2 separate regions of the Homo sapiens genome follow, and region 2 is linked to region 1. The links are contacts of gene promoters, found by promoter capture Hi-C in blood cells and fetal thymus (Javierre and others, 2016). All regions are on one chromosome and are shown on one strand. The core of a region is centred on a gene start or on the middle of the fragment in contact, and the rest is flanking DNA. Distances in the headings are between cores, read along the strand shown. Region 1 holds the start of SMCO3 (single-pass membrane protein with coiled-coil domains 3). Region 2 has its middle 17 kb from the start of RERG.

Region 1 (6,734 bases), core at 2,155-4,654:
CCAAACACCACGTGTTCTCACTCATAAGTGGGAGTTGAACAATAAGAACACATGAACACAGAGAAGGGAACAACACACACCAGGGCCAGTTGAGGAGTGGGGGGCGAGGGGAGGGAACTTAAAGGATGGGTCAATAGGTGCAGCAAACCACCATGGCACATGTATACCTGTGTAACAAACCTGCACATTCTGCACATGTATCCTCCCTTTTGTTTTGGAAGAAATAAATAAAAACAAAAAACAAAGAAAGAACAACAACAAAAAAAGAAAGTTTAGGGTTTTTCAATGAATGGTGCTGGAAAAGCCTGATACCCATATGCAAAAACATAAACCTTGATTTTATGTCATACCATACACATACATAAATTAACTCAAAATGGGACATGAAAAATATAAAACCATAAAACAGAAGAAAATACAGAAGAAAATCTTGTAACTTTTGGTTAGCTGATTAGTCCTTTGATATGTATGACACCAAAAGCATATCCATTAAAGAAAAAACGATAAATTGGCCGGGCATGGTGGCTCATATATTCTTAGATTTATATTTAAGTATTTTATTTTAGTGTAATCCCAACACTTTGGGAGACTGAGGTAGGCAGATCACTTAAGGCCAGGAGTTGGAGACCAGCCTGCCCAACATGGCAAAACCCCGTCTCTACTAAAAAATACAAAAATTAGCTGGGTGTGGCACACGCCTGTAATCCCAGCTACTCGGGAGGCTGAGGGAGGAGAATTGCTTGAACCTGGGAGGCGGAGGATGCAGTGAGCCAAGATGGCACCACTGCACTCCAGCCTGGGTGACAGAGTGAGACTCTGTCTCAAAAAAAAAAAAAAAAGAGAAAATATAAAGACCTGATCAGCAATTTCAAATGCTGCAAGTATGATAAACACTGTAAATTATTTCTTATGTTTAGTCATTACAATGTCATTGACAATGCTAGAAAAGCAATTTTGCAAGAGGCAGGAATATGTACAGAAGCTAGATTATAAATACTGGAAAATTAATGGAGAAAATGAAGTAGAGGCAATGCATGTACACTACCAAACTGGGAAGTCTAACTGTGAAGAAGAAAGATAAAGGAGGCTATTGGGTCAAAAAGGTGATTATTTTTAGGTTTGCTTGATTTTTTTTTAAGTGCAGCATTCATAAGTGCTGGCAAATTGTTGAAACAATCGTAATTGAATCGGGCAGTTTATTCAGGGTCATGTAATATATGGTTTTTGAGCAGAGATTTTAGGAAAAGAAGGGGATGAGCTTTAGGATAAAAGGGAAAATAAAGCATTCTAAATAAAAGACGATCAAGTGAGAGCTACATGCAGATAAGTTTGGAGATATTATTGCTTTCACTCTCATTTCCCACCACTGTCAATCCAGCAGTGAAACTTGTCAAATCAGCCTTCCTGATTCCCTAAAACCACCCTGACTCCAAGATCTACACTAAGAAAATGTGCCTCCTTCCTAAGGTTCAGTTCTGACTATTGACTTGACGTTAATACTGGCTTTAGTAGTCAAGAAAGATTTAAGAAGTTCAAGTTTTCAACCTGAGAAACTGATTGCAGAAAAAAGAAGTTCAAGTTGATTAGGGGGCTCAGTATGAAGTCAATATTGCTTCTAGTTTTTCTCTGATAATTATTTTGCATTGTTACTGTTTATCCTTAATTTTGGCAACTCCACTTAGGCTGCTATGTGGTAGGAGAGAAAGGAGTGGATGAGTAGGCAATAAATGTTAAGAAGGGTAGAAATAGGAGAGAAACAAACACCTTAGGAACAAGTGGGTTAAATGGTACTCTTCAACAATAGCCTCTTCGGAAACAAAATGCAACTGTTTTAAGACAGGGTAAAAGACAGACATATTTTGTCCACATACTGTAGGCAATGGGGTTGGTAACTTATGCTTTATTGTCCATACCTACTAATCAAGTTTACATAATGTACCCTTCCTGAAATCCAAATCTCCAAATATTACACCATAATTAAAAGGATTTTTTAATGGTTCATTATTATCTACAGAATGAAATACAATTTCCTAGCATGACATCTAAGGCTATCTACAAACTATTTTCAATTTTCCATGACTTACCTTCCCTTAACTGCTCCCACTTACACCCTGTATCACCAGCAGGTTGGTTTTTGTTCCCTGAAAATGTTCTACAATTTTTGGTTCAGCTCCTTTGCTCTCAGTGTTCCCTCTATCTGTATTATTTCCTCTATACCACCATCCTCCCCAAACATCTATTAAAATCCTACTTAACATCCATACCTAGTTCAGATACACTGGCCACACATCCGTACGTGGTGGGGCCCTGGATACATCAAGGGCAAGATGATCCACTGGGACAAAAGTAGAAAAGTGACCCCACTTAGCCCTTCTTTAGAATCACAGGGCAGCATCTTTAGATTTTAAAGTTTCCTGTCTGCCTGTCTGGCATTTTGATTCTGTATCCTGTACCCACCCATTCTCCTCTCCCCTCCACCAGGAGATACTGTTGTTAATATATGAATAGCTACCGTTTCATAAGATTTTGCCACATATCAGCCACTATGCCAATTACTTTATAAACACTATCCCATTTAATCCATAAATTATTAACTAATACTCATATTACACCAATGGGAAAACTCAGGCTAAGTGACTTTCTTAGGATTACATGACTAGTAAGTGGTACTTGGAGTACACAAAACCAGGACTGTCTGAGTGTAAAGCCTGCTGTCTTTCACTAAGTTACACTGGGGCTGAGTGATTTCCCTGCCACTCAGGTGTCTTTGCTGTGGAGGAATTAACGGGTCTGAAGACTGAAGCTGGGAAGAAGCAGCAGGGAAGACTGATCTGAGCTTTCAGGGAAAAGAGTGAAGTTGGACTTTAAGGTTTTTATATTGTCAAGACAATTTACAAACACAGGAAGAGAAAGAATGACAAAGAGGAGAACTCCTAGCTGGAAAGAAGAGAAAAAAAAATTGGATGCAAGTAACTGCATTTATATATCTTGAGAATTTAAATAATCAGCAACAGTTAGAGGTGCAAATGCAACAGAAGCTAAAAGAAACTTAGTATCTGGAATAGTTGACAAGATAAAACCCCAAAATCTGAGAGCTGCAATCAAAGAGCCATCTTCTCTACTAAATTGAATTAGCTCAGTTATATAGCGCTTCTCAACAATAAAAAGTCCATTAAAGAACAGAAATTTAAAAATAAGTTTTACACACTATTAGTCTTCCAGTTTATATAACTTAATACTGTATACTAAGTTTTTATTAATAGGAAATGAAGGAATTCTGAGGGCCAAGCCATGTAGAAATAGCCTATAAACCAGACAGGCAGAGGGACCCAGCAGAGACTAGCAAAGTCTGTAAGTCATCACATTCCATCAGAAATATCCAGATGAAACCAGATGAAAAAGCACTTTAACAATACTCCTAAACAACTGCTAGGACCACGGAACTCAGAAACACAGCAAGGTAAGCAACGTGGATATTTCTATTAGTATTGATATAATACTCTGTTTCTCAGTAGTAGGAGGAATTTGAATTAGCCCGTCAGTCTTGAATCCTAACCATAAATAAAATAAAGTAAAAAAACAGCTTTGTTATAAGAGGATCCCATGACATGTTCCTTGTGATTTGGAAGGAACCTTTCCTGGTGCCTTCTCTGAAGACAGCAGAGAAGGAAGAAAATTAACAATTTCTAGGACTGATTAAGTCAGAGTGGAAGAGAAGCAGTAAAGACATCAATTCTAAGAAGGATTAAGGATGAAATGATACCTGTGTGAATGTGTGAAGTTTACATGGATAGTAACATTTCCTTCTATGTCATTAATATTAATATAGGCACTCAGTACCTATCTATGAAAGAATGAATGTGGAATCTAATACTGGTTAATGTATAGTACTTATACTCCTTCATAAATTATGTTGTATCTAAATATCTCTGAGCATTTGCTGTGTGTCTCCAAACAGGCTGTTATCGTCTTGAGGGCAAGGAACATTGTCGTTTTCAAATGCCTCAAGGGACACAGTAGAGGCTTCACCAGTGAGCACTTGATAAATGCTGATGAATGACTTTAATATTCTTCTTTCTGGTCAGAAACATTTTTTAAATGAATTTATATCAGAAAGTATATCATCACATCATGATCAATTTTTGTTTTAATTAAAGGCCACAGATTTTTATTTGAATTAAAGGAGACTCAGAACTAGTTAGAAGCTGTTATTTTCTTCTGAAAAGCTCCTGATTTTACCTATACCCTATTTCCACACTCCCAGATAAGGAAACTGTGCATGATGGCAAAACCCTGTTTGGACAGTGAAGAAAAGTGACAGCAAGAAGAAATGTAAAACCTCAGAGAGCACTAACGACTAAACATCAGAGGTTTAGACAGGGTCACGTTTTTCTTTTTCTTTCTTTTTTATTTGTTATAAGAAAAGTTCAAACATACACAGAAGTAGAGACAATAATATAATAAACTCCCATGTACCCATAACTCAGCTTTAAAAATTATCAAAACAAGGCCAATCTTTTTTCCTCTATAACCCTACCCCACTATTCTTTCCAGATTATTTGTGAACAAATCTCTGAGACCATTTCATTTCATCTTAAATGTTTTCAGTATGTATTTCCAAATAGGCAAGAACTTCTCTTTTTGAAATTTAACCTTACTCTTCCCAAATCAACAATATTTAAACAGGACCATCTTTGACTGGGAAATATACCAGCACTATGCTCAGTATCTGGGTGACAGGATCATTCACAGTAAACCTCAGCAACACACAGTATAGTCAGGGAACAAACCTGTGTATGTACCTCCTGAATCTAAAATAAAAATTGTAAAAATTTTATAGCAGGATACCCAGTATCCTGCTATAAAAATTTATTTGGGGTAGCACAGTAAAAGCTTTTGGAATGCAATTTACGATACATATCAAAAGTAATAAAAATTTAATTCCCATTACTTATGCCACTAATTATGTAATTCTTCTAGGTACTTATGCTGAGGAAATAATCCAGATAATGGAGGAAAAAAAATCTGTGGGTATCAAAATGCTCATTAGAATATTAGTGATAGTGAAACAATTTTAGATTTATTGAACCAGGGTAAAGACAGGGAATAGTATACGTAACCAATAAAATTTTTTTTTTTTTTGAGACGGAGTCTCCCTCTGTCACCCAGGCCGGCGTGCAGTGGCACAATCTCGGCTCACTGCAAGCTCTGCCTCCCAGGCTCATGCCATTCTCCTGCCTCAGCCTCCCAAGTAGCTGGGACTACAGGCGCCCGCCACCGCGCCCGGCTAATTTTTTGTATTTTTAGTAGAGACGGGGTTTCACCGTGTTAGCCAGGATGGTTTCGATCTCCTGACCTCGTGATCCGCCCGCCTCGGCCTCCCAAAGTGCTCGGATTACAGGCGTGAGCCACCACGCCCGGCCAAATATTTTTAAAGCTATAAATAGGGGAAAGTGTTAAGTGAATAAAAGATGAATTTTATTTATACTATTATGATAACTTTGTGAAGATACTTATGCATATAAACAAATTTTGAAAAAGAATAACAAAAATCAAAAGTGAAATGGTAGGTTTATGGGTGTTTTTCCTCCTCTATTTAAAAAAGTGTATATGTTACTGGTAATAAGTATATATTTAAAAATCGTTTTACCAAACCGTTCACTTTTAATTTCTCCATAATGTACCATCTATCAAAGTATAAATCATATATTGCATTCTCCATGAAGCTTTCTCTAATCACCTTGATATTAATTTCTAAGTTCAACAGCACTTGACAGTCAACGCACTACTGTTATTCACGAAAGTACCCTGAAGAGTTGTATTTGAACATATGATGATCAGTACATTTTCATTTTGTAAGGTAGTTCCTTTTCTGAAAAACTAAAACAACTGTATGATGTCATTAAATAAAACTTAACTTTTAGACACAATTATCAGCATATTTCTACCATATCTTAGATGCCCTTTAATCTTAAATGTTGACTTCTCAATTCAAAAAAATTAACAAGGTTAGGTGCAGTAAGCATCCATCTCAAGCTAACCTTTGTCTCCATTTTCATTTCTTAAGGTGTGCTGACCAATGACATCAGCACTTTCAGATGTTTTTTGTCATTTTTTAATAAAATAACAAGTCAAAAATTTCCAAACTTTGTTTTAGCAACAGAACTCTCTCATCAAATAAAATTTTACCTACCCAGAGCCCAAATGTGTAGAGCAAGAGAAAGCACAGCTGCTCCAGTCCAGCAAAGGCCCAGGTGAAAAATGGGAGACCCAGAGACCAAGAGCTCCACCTGCTGTCTAGCAATTCCCAATGGGCTGCTCCAGGGCACTACAGAACCCATTTCATGGATAACTACAAGAAAATATTCAAATAATAGCACAAACTCTGTACAAAAGTGGATGGTAATTCCCCAAGTGGAACTTTTCACCAACAGGAAGCACCATCATGTGACAATTCAAATTATGTAAAAGTTCAAACTTACCATACAATAGGTGTAGTTAATTAGAGCTGGATTAAATATACCACTTGCTGTTGGTGCTACAATCTTTGAAAGTGACAGGTCATCAATGAAAATGGAATAAGATGGAGAAAGTATATGGCTCAGAACTCCTCTCGGGCACAATATTATGGGTTGTTTGTAAAATATCACTTGAAGCTTGCCTGAGTAACAACTACGATCTTTAAGAAGGGTGACTCCAAATAATTGCAGGGCTTTTGTTTTGCTGAGTGGAGT
Region 2 (6,747 bases), core at 1,177-3,676, 430 kb before region 1:
TGGGGTGGCATGTGTCTGTGGTCCCAGCTACTCAGAAGGCTGAGGTGGAAAGATTGCTTGAGCCAAGGAGGTTGAGGCTTCAGTGAGCCAAGATTGCACCACTGCCCTCCAGCCTGAGCAACAGCGTGAGACCTCATCTCAAAACAAAAGTGTGTGCTAAACTCTAAATACTTCTCACAAACTCCAACTCACATGGTTGAAGATGAGAGGGGAGTACCTCTCCCCTCCTTCATAGCTGTGTGGAAAACTTGGGGGAAATGGATAGCACACTGACAATTCCCTTTAAAGAAATTATTTTGAAAGTGGCTGCTTCAACCTCCTTTGGATCTGCCACCTTCCTTCACAGATTCAGAAGGCAGGCAACAGACCAATGCTGGCAGTACCAGTTTTATAATCCCTTAGCATGACCACCCCATCTGGTTTAGTATCTTCTCTAGGACGTAAGATACTTGCCTCGTATTGTGTTGCTCTCAGCCTTTGTGGCCTCTGCTCAAGACAGGAAAGCTCACAGATATCATAATGTTATATAAACATAGGATTCATCTGGACAGAGATAGCATTCGAACTATAGGTCTGCCTAAGAACATTGAGGAAGAGAGAGAGAGAAGAAAAGGAATCTCATCTAGGGGATTCAAAGAACTCCGATATTTAGAGTTAAGGTACAGAAAGAATTTTACAATAAAGTTTAAGAGAGATGAGGGGAAAAATACATGGTTGGTATCACAGCATTTTGAAAGGTAAAAGGCAAAGCAATATCGTGATAGATTTTCTTCTACCAGAGAAGAAGTTTGTTTCTGTCACTGTTGATACTTGATAGATATAAGTCCATAAGTTAATGTCGGAATGGGCTGTAGCATTATGAGAAGATTGAAAGCATTGACGAACCAAAATATAAGCTGATTTTTTAAATACAAGTAAGTTGCTTTTAATTCATTAAATCAATAACAAAGTCTTACAAAAGAAAATTACATTTCAATCTTCAAGTTTTGTGGGTCAAGGAGGAGAAGTGAAATAAAAAAGCAAAAAGGAAAACAAAAACAAAAGCAGAAAACGATTAGGAGGGCGGCCAGTATTCATTTTCACTCTCAGATCTAAATGTTAGAACGTAATTGCTGACTCTTCTATTTGGTTTTAAAAGTTGACATTTGAGCTGAGACAACCGTTTCTAAGCTGAAGTAGAATTAAGCATATTGTATACTGACATTTTTCACTGTCCAAATAAGCTTAAAACAAATAATCTTAGAAATGTTTGTTTGGCATCAGTGAATATATAAATGAATTAAGGAATGTATGTAATATGTCCATACCTCAAACAACATGAAATATTTGAGAATGTATGAAAGGTCAAATTTATGTTTTTCCCCCTGCATTCCAAATAACAGCATCATGTTCTAGTTAAGAAATATAGTATAACTTAGTTTAATGTATTTTATGCCCTAAAATGCTTTCATTATAAATTTTGTTTTAACTTTGTAGTTGTTCAAATTATTTTAACTTCTAGTGGAGACAACTATTGTGTATATAGTTTTAAATGGAGATTTAACTATTAGGATTAAGGATTAATTTCTACATTTGTTTAGTTGCATTCTGTTCCTTTAAAAACAAGGGCTTCAACATAAGACAAAAGTGCTTGAGCAATACTTTGTGCATCATTGGAACAATTACTGTCTGTGAAGCCATTTTGGACCAAAAGATAATTTTTAGCATTTTCTAAACTCTAGGGAAAAAAAAGTTGAACTTTGGAACCCAGGAATTTCGACTAAGGCATCAACACTCTTCTCGTAAACAGTGGTAATTAGGGCTTTGCCAAGTAGGAATGGGGCTTTCTGCCACAAAGATATGCTTTTGTGATAATATAAAGTGGTAATTATTTCCATTCAAGGCTATTTTTAAGTTGTTTCCACCTGCTTGCATGTTTATGAAAATCATTTCTGGCCATGGTAAAGCTTGACCTAACTAGATAGCTGGCATAAACATCACTAATGATTTGCTCTGATAAACATGAAGAGAAAAATGTGATTTCCATTTTCTTTCAAATCCTTAATTGTAGGAATTCACATTTGAAATGTTATTATCCTTTGTTCTCAAATCACTCATTCGCCAATCATATATCTTGGTTTATTTCTGCAGATTTCCTACATGTGTGCTGCACTGGGACCAGTCACGCAGAAAGACTGGCTAGACTTTCAGTCTCGGGAGAATAGATCCAAGCATAAGTGGTAAATTTGAAGGTGGCTTGGTTAATGCTAAGTCAACCTGGATAGTTTAATTGCCAGGAAATAGGGAGGTAAAACCAAGTCGAAGAGTTGTCTATTGACAATGGGACCAGGATCAACGACCCCTGAGATTTCCAGGAGTCAATATAGTTTCACATCAACAGGAGTTAAGAATCGTATCCTTGGAGATTACGTGGCGCCAAAAGAGCGAAGGTGGGAAGTTCAGCGTTAAAGAGTCTCTCCAGCCTGGAGAATGAGCAGCAGTTCCTAAAGGATTATGCTATCTTCTGATCAACTTTTGACATTTGACTTAAAATTTTAAACTTGCATAAGTAATTGCATGCACACAATAAAATATTCAAAAGGTTCAAACAGGTGTATAATGAAAGGGAAGTCCTTCTCCAAGCCCTCAGTTATCTTCCTCAGAAGAAACCACTGTCCCAGCAGCTCTGAATCCCCCTTCCAGAGATATTCCCTGTGCCTGAGCACAGTGCCTGTGTATAATTACAACTGTTTAATATACAAATTGTATCTTACTGGTTTGCTCTTTCTTTTCTATTTAACAGTGTGTCTTTGAGTTCATTTTTTATCCCCATTCATTTTAATGGCTTCTGTTACCTTTTTATCTGGTGGTTGGGGCTGTCAGTTTAACTCTATTTCATCTAACTCATTTCACTTAAATAAGCTTTACCTTACATTTAAATTAGATCATATGTAGTTAGCATCTAAAAAATATCTGGCATGGATCAGGCTCTTCCACTTCTATTTGTGTGATATTGAGGAAGTTACTCAATTTTCCTAAGTCTCCTTTTTCTCATGTATATAATGGGGATACTATCTGCCTGACTGACATGGCCAATATGACTGCTATCTATCAAATGTGTGCTCTCTCTTTTACACTAGAGAGTTATATCTGGGAAGAAATAGTACAGCTGGAGGCTCTATTTGCTGGTGCCCATTATAGTGTTATCATGTGACTAAGTTTTGCCAATGGAAGATGAGAAGTAATGATATAGGTCAGTTCAAGCCAAGGCAATTAAAACCACAACTACACACTAAATCATATAATTGGGGTAAAGGGCAAATAAGACAACATAAGGAAAACATTTAGGGCATAGTAATGCTAAGTAAGTGGTATTTATTATTATGAGTATTATAACCCACATTTGGCACTCCATATGAATAACCTGTAGTTTTTCCTGTATCAACTTCAATAAGAACACAATACTTGGTCACATGCTTCAAGGTCAAATGCAAGTCACAATGTAGATTTTAATTGCAGAAATAAAAGAGCAAATTTACATTGCACACATCATAGCAAAGAACTTAGTAACAATCTCCATTAGACCTTTTTTCTCCCAGAGAGTAATTCTTCAGCTGCCAGCCTAGAGATGTTTTTCTTTCTTGATATTTTCCCCATAAATCTCTAAGTTATACTCTATTGTCCCAACAAATTCAGATTCCACTTAAAAAATAATCTCACTTGAAGAACTTCTGAGGTCAACTGGACCCGCCTTCCTTAAAAGGCAAATTGTCAATAACCCATTGTTATTCAACCTGATTTTTGATGGTCTCCATTCTTAGCTAATCATAATATCCAAATATCCAAATATTTACCCAACATTACTAGAGCCTATACCTAGAAGGGGATTTTTTTTTTCTAAGAGAAATATTCTCCCTCCTCACCCAATTTTCGTGGAATTTTAAATGAGTTTCTCATTTGACTCCTGGTTGCATTAAGGAAATGGACCATATTTGGAGATTCTCTCCCCTTTCTGACTAAAATAGCCCTAGAGAAGCCTTGAGTTGCCTCATTAAAGATAGCATCTGCCCACCAAGCTATTTTTTTTAGAGTAACTCTGGCCTTTGCTTGTGTTTGGTCCATTCTTTATCCTCTTCAAAAAAATATAGCTTATGGACATTGTCCCTGCATATGTTGAATTTGGTCTCAACAACGTACTCCTTCCTTCCCTGTCCTGGGAAATTCCTGTCTTTGTATTCTTGATGATGTTCACCTAAGTCTCTTCATTGAAATTCAGCCTCACAGTCTACCCATTTCACTAAACCTCTGGAAGACATGATTCCTACTCCTGTCCCCTGAACAGCACCAGCCCTCTTTACGTATACTTAATGAGTCTTAGTTCTTTCAAAGGAGTTATCATCCAACTAACATCCAGTGTGGCTAAGTCTACCAGTCTGTGGCACAATAAAGATACCACACTATACCTGTGACTAACCATGAGGCAAGTGTGGAAAACACCGAAATTGTTTTATAATATTCATCCCTTGTTTAATAACTGTCTTCATCAATATACTGTAAATTATGCATGGGATGAACCGTGTCTGAATCATTCCTTGAAGTATCCTCAGAATCTAGCACAGTACCTCAGGTATATCAGGGGCTCTGTAATGTTTATTAAAGGAATAAACAATATAGATAACCTATAAGTGAAAGATTAAATCGTCAAATATGTGTTTATCAAAACAAAATCCATACTACATTTAAAAAAATCTAACTCATACTTAATAATTACTACCTTTGTAAATTTAGACAAACTGCTCTTTGGTTCTCAGCGTCCTTTTCTCTAAAATGATGCAGTGAAAAGTAGAGTAAAAGAAATTAGAACATCACAAAAATGCTATCTCAATGTTAGAGATTGTTGTTTTCATTTTTATTGGCAATAGGAGGCTGACAGATTAATTATTACAGTCTAGGATATTAATCACTTCCACTCATGTCTACTGCATTATATGAGAAGTAATGTGTCTCAGAGACAACTTTATAGGAGCTCATTGCCTAGCTCATTGCCCCTGACTTGCTGGACACAGAGGAAAATCACATATTTCCATTCTTTGTCTTTAAAATGAGAAAAATGCATGTCTGCTTCCTGGTTAGATTACATATATCTAATCAAGTACTCCTAATTTAGTGTTTTTCAGTTCCTCCATCCTAAGATTTTCCTTGCCCAGTTTCCTCTGTGGTTAAAAGAAACTGTCAATTATTTTAGTCTCATTTTAATCTGTGTTTCATATTTTAAACCTGCTGTTTTATATTAAAATATAGAAACAAATAACTGTTAAAAATTTATGGAATTAATCTAATGCAGGGGTAAAAATTCTGTTCTTGTTGTTAACAAATTCTTACTATTAAACTCCTAAATGAACTATTCCTTGAACCAAAAGTAACATAAGTATGTTGTCACAAAATATTAAAAACAAAATCCTGTAAAGCAGCCAGTGATGGGTTTCCATCCACATAGGGTACCGAGGAAACTTCCATCATTTATTAAATACCTATAAAGTGAGGGTCACTTCACTATAAAGTGGAGGTTTAGATACATAATAGGCAATGTCTTCAAGGGAGTACCCAAATCTCAGACTCTTCTTATCCTATCAAGGTTGCTAGAGAGTTTTACGTCAGTAGAAAGCCTCCCTCACTGTAGCAATGGAATGGGCAATGGAAAACCTCCCTCAAAATCACAGTGGGGCTGGGTGTGGTGGCTCATGCCCATAATCCCAGCACTTTGAGAGCCCAAGGCAGGCAGATCACTTGGGGCCAGGAGTTTTACACCAATCTGGCCAATAGACTGATGAAACCCCATCTCTACTGAAAATACAAAAATTAGCTGGACATGGTGGCACGTGCCTGTAGTTCCAGCTACTCCAGAGGCTGAGGGAGGAGAATCGCTTGAACCTGGGAGGCAGAGATTGCAATGAGCCAAGATCCTGCCACTGCACTCCAGCCTGGCGACAGAGCAGGACTCCATCAAAAAAAAAAAAAAAATTACAGTAAACACTTTGTGGAAAGGAACACCCTGGTCTCTTAAGACTAAAGGTCATTCCTAGTGGAATGCTTTAAGGTAATGGAGGATGATGAAAGCTAAAACATCAAATGTGTTACTTGAAAGCTGGAGATCCAGGAGCACAGTTATGTGACAGCTGGAGACGGCAAGGTAGGCAGTGCTCTGGACAGGAGCCAGAAGCACCAGAGTCCTTGACTCCAACATAAGGGAGCTCAAACAAATCAGTAAGAAAAAACAAACAAACAAACAAAAACCAGTCCCACCAAAAAGTGGGCTCAGGACATGAATATACAATTCTCCAAAGAAGATATACAAATGGACAACAAACATATGAAAAAATGCTCAACATCACTAATGATCAGGAAAATGCAAATCAAAACCACAATGTAATGCCACCTTATTCCTACAAGAATGGCCATAATCAAAAAATAACAAAACAGCAGATGTTGGCATGAATGCAGTGATCAGGGATCACGTCTACACTGCTGGTGGGAATGTATACTAGTACAGCCACTGCGGAAAACAGTGTGGAGATTCCTTAAAGAACTAGAAAGAACTCCTTAAAGAGCTATTGTTTGATCCAGCAATCCCACTACTGGGTATCTACTCTTAGGAAAATAAGTCATTATACAAAAAAGATACTTGCACACTCATATTTATAACAGCACAATTCACAACTGAAAAATCTTGGAACCAACCCAAATGCTCATCAATTGAGTGGATAAAGC

Evidence for each region. The method cuts DNA at HindIII sites, captures the fragments that hold promoters and counts their contacts. A CHiCAGO score of 5 or more calls a contact.
Region 2: a contact is called between a fragment that was not itself captured here and the fragment with the promoter of SMCO3 in region 1, in 2 of 17 cell types (megakaryocytes and M2 macrophages). The highest score is 6.4, in megakaryocytes.

What each region holds. Positions count from the first base shown.
Region 1 is chr12:14,810,852-14,817,585 of GRCh38, reverse strand. It overlaps SMCO3 (single-pass membrane protein with coiled-coil domains 3), which reads left to right and starts at 3,404. Exons shown (of 2, transcript NM_001013698.2): 1 at 3,404-3,460. All of the region lies in intron 1 of C12orf60 (chromosome 12 open reading frame 60), which reads right to left. The HindIII fragment of the contact is 14,101 bases long and covers 1-4,895 here.
Region 2 is chr12:15,235,463-15,242,209 of GRCh38, reverse strand. No RefSeq gene overlaps it. Among named protein-coding and RNA genes, the nearest start is that of RERG, 17 kb to the right of the region's middle. The HindIII fragment of the contact is 955 bases long and covers 1,949-2,903 here.